Regions from separate parts of the Homo sapiens genome. Here all the other regions are linked to region 3. The links are contacts of gene promoters, found by promoter capture Hi-C in blood cells and fetal thymus (Javierre and others, 2016). All regions are on one chromosome and are shown on one strand. Each heading gives the region's core, a stretch centred on a gene start or on the middle of the fragment in contact. The rest is flanking DNA. Distances are from core to core; before and after follow the strand shown.

Region 1 (2,700 bases), core at 51-2,550, 680 kb after region 3:
CTTACATTCTAGCTGGGGAAATACACAAAAATAAACAAGCAGATGAAATAATTACAAATTATGTTGAAGCAAGGAAATGAAATAGAAAATAATGGTGGGAACATTTTTAAAATTAATATGGGCTGGAAAGACCTCTTTGAGTGGGTAATATTTAAGCTGAGCCCCAGAGGCTAGAAAAGAGCCAGTATGTAAACAGTGGGAAGAAATGGGCTCCACGCAGTGGGAACAGGTGTGAGAAGAGACTGAAATGGGAAAGAGCTTGACACTTTAGAGAAGAGTAGGGAGGCCAGAATGTAGACAGCAAGGGTGGAGTGGCTCAAAGTAGACTAGAGAGGGAAAAAATAACCAGAGTATGGAACACCTTATAATGCAAAGCTTGAGGATTTAAAAAAATGGTTTGGAGTGTTATGATTGGAGGTGATCAAAGGTAAAAGTCAGAAGTTCCACCAGTTCGGAGGCCACTGTAGAATCCAGAGAGATGATGATGGGCCTGGGTGGCCTGCCATGACCTTATCATGATGTCATTATGGTGGGAGTGGGTTGTTATAAAATGAGTCCAGCCCTGGTGCCTCTCTTTCATGTTCAGCCCTCCCACCATGTTATGCTATGCTGCATCAAGAAAGACTCACCAGATGCCACAGCCATGCACTTGGATGCCCCAGCCTCCAGAGCTATGAGAAATAAATTCTTTATAAATTACCCAGTCTCAGGTATTCTATTATAGCAACATAAAATGAACTAAGACAGACTTGGAAAAGAATTCATTCTATGTGATCATTATAATCTTTCCCAATAAGCAGACTCCTTGAGAAGCAAGTCATGTCAGAAAGCTGCCTGTGCCCAGTGCAGTGGCTCATGCCTGTAACCCCAGCACTTTGGGAGGCCAAAGTGGGTGGATCGCTTGAGCTCAGGAGTTTGAGACCATCCTGGGCAACATGGCAAAACCCTGTCTCTACAAAAAAATACCAAAAATTAGCCAGGCGTGGTGGCATGCGCCTGTAGTCCCAGCCACTCAAGAGGCTGAGGTGGGAGAATGGTGTGAGTTCAAGAGGCAGAAGTTGCAGTGAGTCAAGATTGCTCCACTGCACTCCAGCCTGGACGACAGAGCCAGACCCTGTCCCAAATAAAAAAGAAGGAAAGAAAGCTAAACATGAATATTTTGATATACAGTGGCACCACATTCATAGCAAGTGGGCCTAAAAGATAGGCTGTAACAATTGCAGTCTATTGGCTTAGATCCCCTCCTTTCTGCAGTTTTTGAGAAGGCACAGCCTCTATGATGCTCATTCTGTACATTCACAGTGGCCTGAATCCCCCTCTTTCAATTGACATGTTCTTTGGACTTTCGAAGACATTTCATGTAACCAGGGACTACTTTTACTGATTTAAGGGCCATCCTGCCTCTTTAAGGTGGATTTACATAACTCCTCCCTGATTGGTTTAAAGGTTGAGTTAAAACTCTCTGAGAGTAGCTTTATTTCTCCTTCCAAGTTTTGGGGGATATTTCCTGAACTTCCATACAATATTACACACATCTCTATCAAAGTAAGGTTGAAGGAGATTCCGATTCATATACGCACATGCTAGAATGAATCTTCTAGTTCCATTCCAGATAACATTCACAATCCAAAATATTTCTCTTCTAACTTTTCTTAGCATCTATGAGACTAAGTACATACAAGGAATACCCAGTAACGAGCAAAAGGGGTACTTGGGTTTACTAAATATTTTAACAGACAACTTATTCCTCAACACCTCTAGTCCCTTCCCTTGAAAATAAACACATCAGTAAAACTCCACCACTTCTATTCCCCTCTATCACACTGTCACCACCATGAAAATTAGCTGAAAGCACTCCTCAAGGATTGAGAGACGGCCAGGCCACCTATGTTTTTAAAGTCTCTTGGTATAATAAGTGATAAAAAAGAGAGGATGCCAAAAACAGGGTTACAAGAAGTGTGGTATATTTAAAAGATACCACAGTTAACAAATTAATGGACGCACCCACAGAACACAGCACACAGTTGTACTGTTCACAAGATAATTACAGCCCTTTATAAAAAGTAGCTGATAGCATGCTTCAGTAGATAGTGAGCCCTGTAATGAGACACAAGTTGTAGATGAATATATTTTTCTTTTAATCCAGTCAGTGTTTCTTTGTGACTGTGTATAGAACTTCATGTGGAGATAAAGTAAAACATTCAAGTTTGAGACTCTTCTTGAATGTAAGCTTATGTCAAATGTCGCACTGGTGGATCCACCTCCCCCACACCCCCCGCCCCCCGCCCCCGCTCCATTCTGATGGTCGTGCATTTAACTAGAAATTGATGGAAATCAGTGTTAGTAACTGAGGGCCTTAGAATATTATCAGTCTCGGCATCCTCTCCCAGCATGATTAGGGGACAAAAGCCCGTATAGAGATTGTGTCCAGGAACCTCTGGGCACAAGCTCTTTACAGATTGCCTCTGGGGTCTGAGGGGCGCCCTAACTAGATTAGAAACTGACATGTTCTACCCCAGGGCCTCCGCGAACGACAGCAGGCGAGAATCCTTGCTCTGGACACGGGGAACAGGGTCAGCATCTCGTCTCCTATCTCCACCGACCTGTCTCTGGCTTTTCTTAGTCCCCAGATGCGCCCAGAAGGTCCTGGAGAGTGGTGCGTCCCCTTGGCAACCGTACAACGCGCAGGAAGGCGGAGTG
Region 2 (2,700 bases), core at 87-2,586, 980 kb after region 3:
ATAAAGGTATATAATTCAAAATATTCTGAGCATACAGATTCTCTTTTCCTTCTTTAACATCATCATGATTTAAATGAACCTGAGTAATTAATGCTGATCTAGTAAATCGTAGTGGCCTTAAGTCTAAGTATTGAGAATAGGTAATTTTAGCCGGGTGCGGTGGCTCAGGCCTGTAATCCCAGCACTTTGGGAGGCCGTAGGCAGTTAGGATCACCTGAGGTCAGAAGTTTGAGACCAGCCTGACTAACATGGAGAAATCCCATCTCTACTAAAAAAAAAATACAAAATTAGCCGGGCGTGGTGGCGCATGCCTGTAATCCCAGCTACTCAGGAGGCTAAGGCGGGAGAATTGCTTGAACCTGGGAGGAGGCAGAGATTGCAATGAGCTGAGATCTGGCCATTATTGCACTCCAGCATGGGCAACAAGAGCGAAACTCCTTCTCAAAAAAAAAAAAAAAAAAAAAAAAAAAGAATAGGTAATTTTATTATATTCTACAATGAAGGGCAATTTAAACATAATGTAATTTAATGTTTAGACATTTGTGAAACTTTCAACTAAAAGATTCCCAAGTTTCTATGAGAAAAATTAAAACAACTTTTGTCAGAGTAGGCAGTAGGCATCCCAATTATTTTACAAAATATGCTCACCATAAACAAAACAATTATATGACTTAGAATTACATGTTAATATAACCGTTCTTGCCCTGCTTTCTACAAGGTATTGTGAAATTATGTGTTCTGGGTATTTTTGACTTGTATGTGCTTCTGATTAGCTGGAAAACAGCTAGGAAAATACAGTGGTCAAAACATAGAATTTGGCTGGGTGTTCTAATCCCAGCACTTTGGGAGGCGGAGATGGGAGGATCGCTTGAGGCCAGGATTTGAGACTAACCTGGGCAACATTGTGAGAGTCCCATCTCTACAAAAAATTAAAAGACAAGCCTAATTCAATATGGTTTTCCTTACCATTCAGCTCTGTGATGTAGATAGAAACTTTACCCCTGAAGCTAACATAATTCAAATTCAATTGTGGATCAAGTTGGCAACCCAACATGTATGCTCCATATTGCCTCTGGCACCAAGTTTAAACATTTAAGAAAAATTATCCGGCCAGGCGCAGTGGCTCAAGCCTGTAATCCCAGCACTTAGGGAGGTCAACGTGGGTGGATCATGAGGTCAGGAGATCGAGACTATTCTGGCTAACACAGTGAAACCCCATCTCTACTAAAAATACAAAAAAATTAGCCGGGCGTGGTGGTGGGCACCTGTAGTCCCAGCTACTCGGGAGGCTGAGGCAGGAGAATTGCTTGAAACCACCGGAAGGCAGAAGTTGCAGTGAGCCAAGATCACGTTACTGCACTCCAGCCTGGGTGACAGAGACAGACTCCATCTCAAAAAAAAAAAAAAGAAAAATTATCCTAATGTGTCCTCCAAATATGTCCTTTTTTTTTTTTTTTGAGACAGAGTTTCGCTCTTGTTGCACAGGCTGGAGTGCAGTGACATGATCTTGGCTCACTGCAACCTCCGCCTTCCGGTGGTTTCAAGCAATTCTCCTGCCTCAGCCTCCTGAGTAGCTGGAACTACAGGCACATACCACCACGCCCAGCTAATTTTTTGTATTTTTATTAGAGATAGGGTTTCACCATGTTGGTCAGGATGGTCTCGATCTCTCGACCTTGTGATCCGCTCGCCTCGGCCTCCCAAAGTGCTGGAATTACAGGCGTGAGCCACCGCGCCCGGCCCAAATATGTCCTTTCAAAGTCATACTAGAGTACTGTCTAAAAGGCCGGCATGGAAGTTGTCTGATTGTAGAGGAAGTCATTTCATTTCATTTATTTACCATTGATAGGGTCCGGAGTCTGTAAAGTTAGATGTTAGCTTATGGAAAATAAGTGGCAAATGATTTTGTTGGGTAGAAAAGATATCTCCAGGCCAGGTGCGGTGTCTCACGCCTGTAATCCCAGCACTTTGGTAGGCCGAGGCGGGTAGATCACTTGAGGTGGATCACTTCAGGAGTTTGAGACCAGCCTGGCCAGCAGGGTGAAACCCAGTCTCTACTAAAAATACAAAAATTAGCCAGGCTTGGTGGCACATGCCTGTAATCCCAGCTACTGGGGAGACTGAGGCAGGAGAATTGCTTGAATCCAGGAGGTGGAGATTGCAGTGAGCCAAGAGCGCGCCATTGCACTCCAGCATGAACGAAGAAGCGAGACTCTTGTTTAAAAAAAGAAAGAAAGAAAAGATATCTCCAAAGGTTGCCATTTCATTGCTCTGTGAATATTAAGCAGTGTTATATTTCATATTGCAGTCTTATCCCAGCATTCTTTTTCCCACTGACTATATATTTACCAGTCTCCCCTATCTTTCTTCTTTTGCCGGTTCCCTGATGATTAGTTAAATAAGAAGGGTAAATAAGAGGCTAGCTTGCCTAGCAGATAGAGAAAGGGGTATTTCTGACTTGGGAAGATCAGCATGTGCAAAGGCGAGCGTGACTCCTTTAGAGAATTCCAAGAGACTCCATGTGGCTAAAGCAGTTCTTCTCAAACTTTGATGTCCATATGAATCACTCAGATTCAGTGAGTCTAGGGCGAGGCCCAGAATTCCACCTGTCTACAAGCTCCCAGGTTAAGCTGCTGCTGCTTGTCTTTGGACCATACTTTGAGTAAAAAGGGGGTAGGGTTAAAGCACTTCCAAAGATGT
Region 3 (2,700 bases), core at 184-2,683:
GAGCCGACATACAAATGCTTCCTCCGTTCTTTCCTTTAATGGACAGTTCTGAGACTCATTTCATAAAGCTTCTTAGAAGGTCCTAAGGGACTAAGAAAACATTCAAATATGGTGATGACCAACTCAGTAACACATTCTTATACTGCATCTCCCTTTTTGTTTTGTCTTCTTCCTCTTCCCTCATTTTGCTCCCTGGGATCAAATTTCCAAATAAACTATTGCATATAAGTGTCACTTTGCAGGGAATCCAAGAGGAGAGAGGATAATTTAATTTTTGGACACACAAGTTTGAGGTGTCTATAAGACATCCAAGTGGAAATGTCAGGCGATGGGCAGTATATACACAAATCTTGAGGTTCAAGAAAGAGATCTAGGCTTCTGAAATGCAATTCATTTCCCAACTTTGAGGAGGGCTATAAACATACAGGTAAATAAAAGAAAGATAATAGGACCAAAAAACACATGCAATTGTCATAGAGTGTCCACAGTAAGCATTCCGGTGCCAAGCAGGAAAGGGTCTTTGTAAAGATATAACCAGATCCTGCTCTTAAAAGGGAAGTCATTTGATGAAAGTGAAAAGTATTCTAACTACTGTTTGCTCATTTAAATTTCTAGCACATTTATCTGATCTGTACCTCTCTTTGGTCACTTATTTTGTGTCCTATTTTATATATATTTGTACCTACACCTTGTCTAGTCCTACCACACTGTGAACTCCTTTAGGTTAAGATTCATGCCTGAATCACCTCTGTACCTGGAATCAAAGTGCCTAGCATTAAAAAAAAAAGGTGCCAGGAATATTGAATAAATAAAACACCTACCTGCAACCAGCAACATTGGCATCATTTATGCATCCCAAACTTAAATATGCATAAGCATCATCTTGCTAAGATGCAGATTCTGATTCAGTAGATCTGAAGTGAGCCAGAGAGGCTGCATTTCCTAAAAAGCCCCCAGATGATACCCAAGCAGCTGATCCACGGACCACACTTTGAGTATCAAGGTCATGAGGACAATGGTTCTTGACCTTAGCTGCATATGAGAATCATCTGGGAAGATATTAAAAGTACTGATGTCTGGGTCCCACCCGCAGGGATTCTGATTTAACTCATTTAAGCTCTCCAAAGTTTAAGTAGCAAAGATCTAGAGTTAATAGAGCTTTACGTATGAAAAAAGAAAACATTTAATCGAATTTCTTCTTAAATGAATTGCTGCAAATATCTGAATAAATAACTCTTAATCCCCAACTCCCAAGTCAGTTTCTGTGCCACAAAGGCCCCGCCCCTGCCCTTCCCTGACACGCCCCTCCAATGAGGCCTTGTTCCGCCTGGCCACGCCCGTCGGTTGGCGCCCCGCCCCTCCGCGTCTATTGGCCGCTCCCTTTTTCTCCCATCGCTGCTTCTTCCTTCTCTACGCGGTCAACTTCCGGCGCGGAGTTTGTCACGTGCCCGGATATAGGAAGTGTTGGGGGAACGGCCGCTTCCCGTTCAACGCTTTATTGAGGGGCGTATCCTAGTGGCCCCCATCCGGTCTCCGTTTTGGAAGACCCGCCTCGGCACAGCCAGGCTCAGTCCGGCCTTGCGGTAAGCCTTCGGCCGCGGCTGCCCGGTAGTCCCGGCGGCGGCGGACAGACGAGCTGACAGGCACCAGGGTCTAAGGCGGCTCCTCAGTCCGGCTGCTGTCTCCACGCCTGGGGTCGGGCACCGCTCCTTCTGACCTTCCTTTCCCCGTTTGTCCCGGTAAGACGAAGTTTGGTCAGAGCATTCTCCAGTCCCTTGTCCTCGGGTCTAGGAGAATGCGGAGCTGGGAGGGCAGTCCTCACGGGCCCCATTACGGTTCCGCCCATCGGAACCAGATTTTGTTTGTGCAAAATGACCCTGATCGTAAGCTCTTTGGCGTGGTCCAGGAGAGGAGAGCGTGACTGTGCCTTCCTCTTTGTCCAAATTCACATCCCGGCCCCCCAACCCCAACTCCCCCCCACCCCCCGCCAAATCTCTTAAGTGTATTTCTCTATTTCCTTGCACAGTTATATCTTCTAGATGGCAATGCTTCATGCATTAATATATCTCAGCAGCATACAGGGCCCAATGCACACGGGCACTCACACTGACAGGCTATTTGTCACACAGTGTGGTGGTCCAACTGAGCTGAAGGAAACAACCAGTACAGAGTAAGCAGTGGATGGCTGCCTTTGGAACGTGGTCAGATATGGGTTCTCAGACCTGGAGAATAATTTTAGAGGACCTCTAGGGATTTATTTACTGACTTTCAGAAAAGTACCGTAAAGACTGAAGAGTTAATCACTCGACTCTTAGGATGTAAATGCCATAGAAACACCCGGCTTCAGGTCTTCATAAACATATCTGTCATGTTGACTACTGTAACCTAGAATAGTGTCTGCCACCTAATAAGCATGAGTATTTGCTGAATGAATGAAGAGTCACATACTGCTTTTCATTATGGCTAACTCCTTTATGAGGTATGCCCAATCCTGTCTTGTTTTGCCTCTTACTGTACACTCAGTTGCTTTTAGCCAGAGAAGGAGTATGTGGTAAACGTTGGTCCCTATTATTCATTTGACCAGTTTTTACTATTCAGTTCTAATTACCTTAATAGATATTTAAGTATCCACTAAACACAAAACTATGATGAACATCCCTCCCTTCTTTAAGAGAATTCTTGAGATAGAGAAGCTTATGA

The links. Contacts are between HindIII fragments. The CHiCAGO score rates a contact against its expected background, and 5 or more counts as called.
Region 1: a contact is called between a fragment that was not itself captured here and the fragment with the promoter of EXOC1 in region 3, in 2 of 17 cell types (fetal thymus and total B cells). The highest score is 7.6, in fetal thymus.
Region 2: a fragment that was not itself captured here is called in contact with the fragment with the promoter of EXOC1 in region 3 in 1 of 17 cell types (fetal thymus); the score reaches 7.4 in fetal thymus.

What each region holds. Positions count from the first base shown.
Region 1 is chr4:56,527,747-56,530,446 of GRCh38, forward strand. LOC105377665 (a long non-coding RNA gene) reads right to left here. Exons shown (of 4, transcript XR_941077.1): 1 at 2,604-2,700; 2 at 630-671. Among named protein-coding and RNA genes, the nearest start is that of SPMAP2L, 1.5 kb to the right of the region's middle. The HindIII fragment of the contact is 1,855 bases long and covers 374-2,228 here.
Region 2 is chr4:56,833,541-56,836,240 of GRCh38, forward strand. No RefSeq gene overlaps it. Among named protein-coding and RNA genes, the nearest start is that of SPINK2, 13 kb to the left of the region's middle. The HindIII fragment of the contact is 4,006 bases long and covers 1-2,700 here.
Region 3 is chr4:55,852,215-55,854,914 of GRCh38, forward strand. EXOC1 (exocyst complex component 1) reads left to right here and starts at 1,434. Exons shown (of 19, transcript NM_001024924.2): 1 at 1,434-1,739. RefSeq lists a silencer at 1,226-1,325. The HindIII fragment of the contact is 2,625 bases long and covers 67-2,691 here.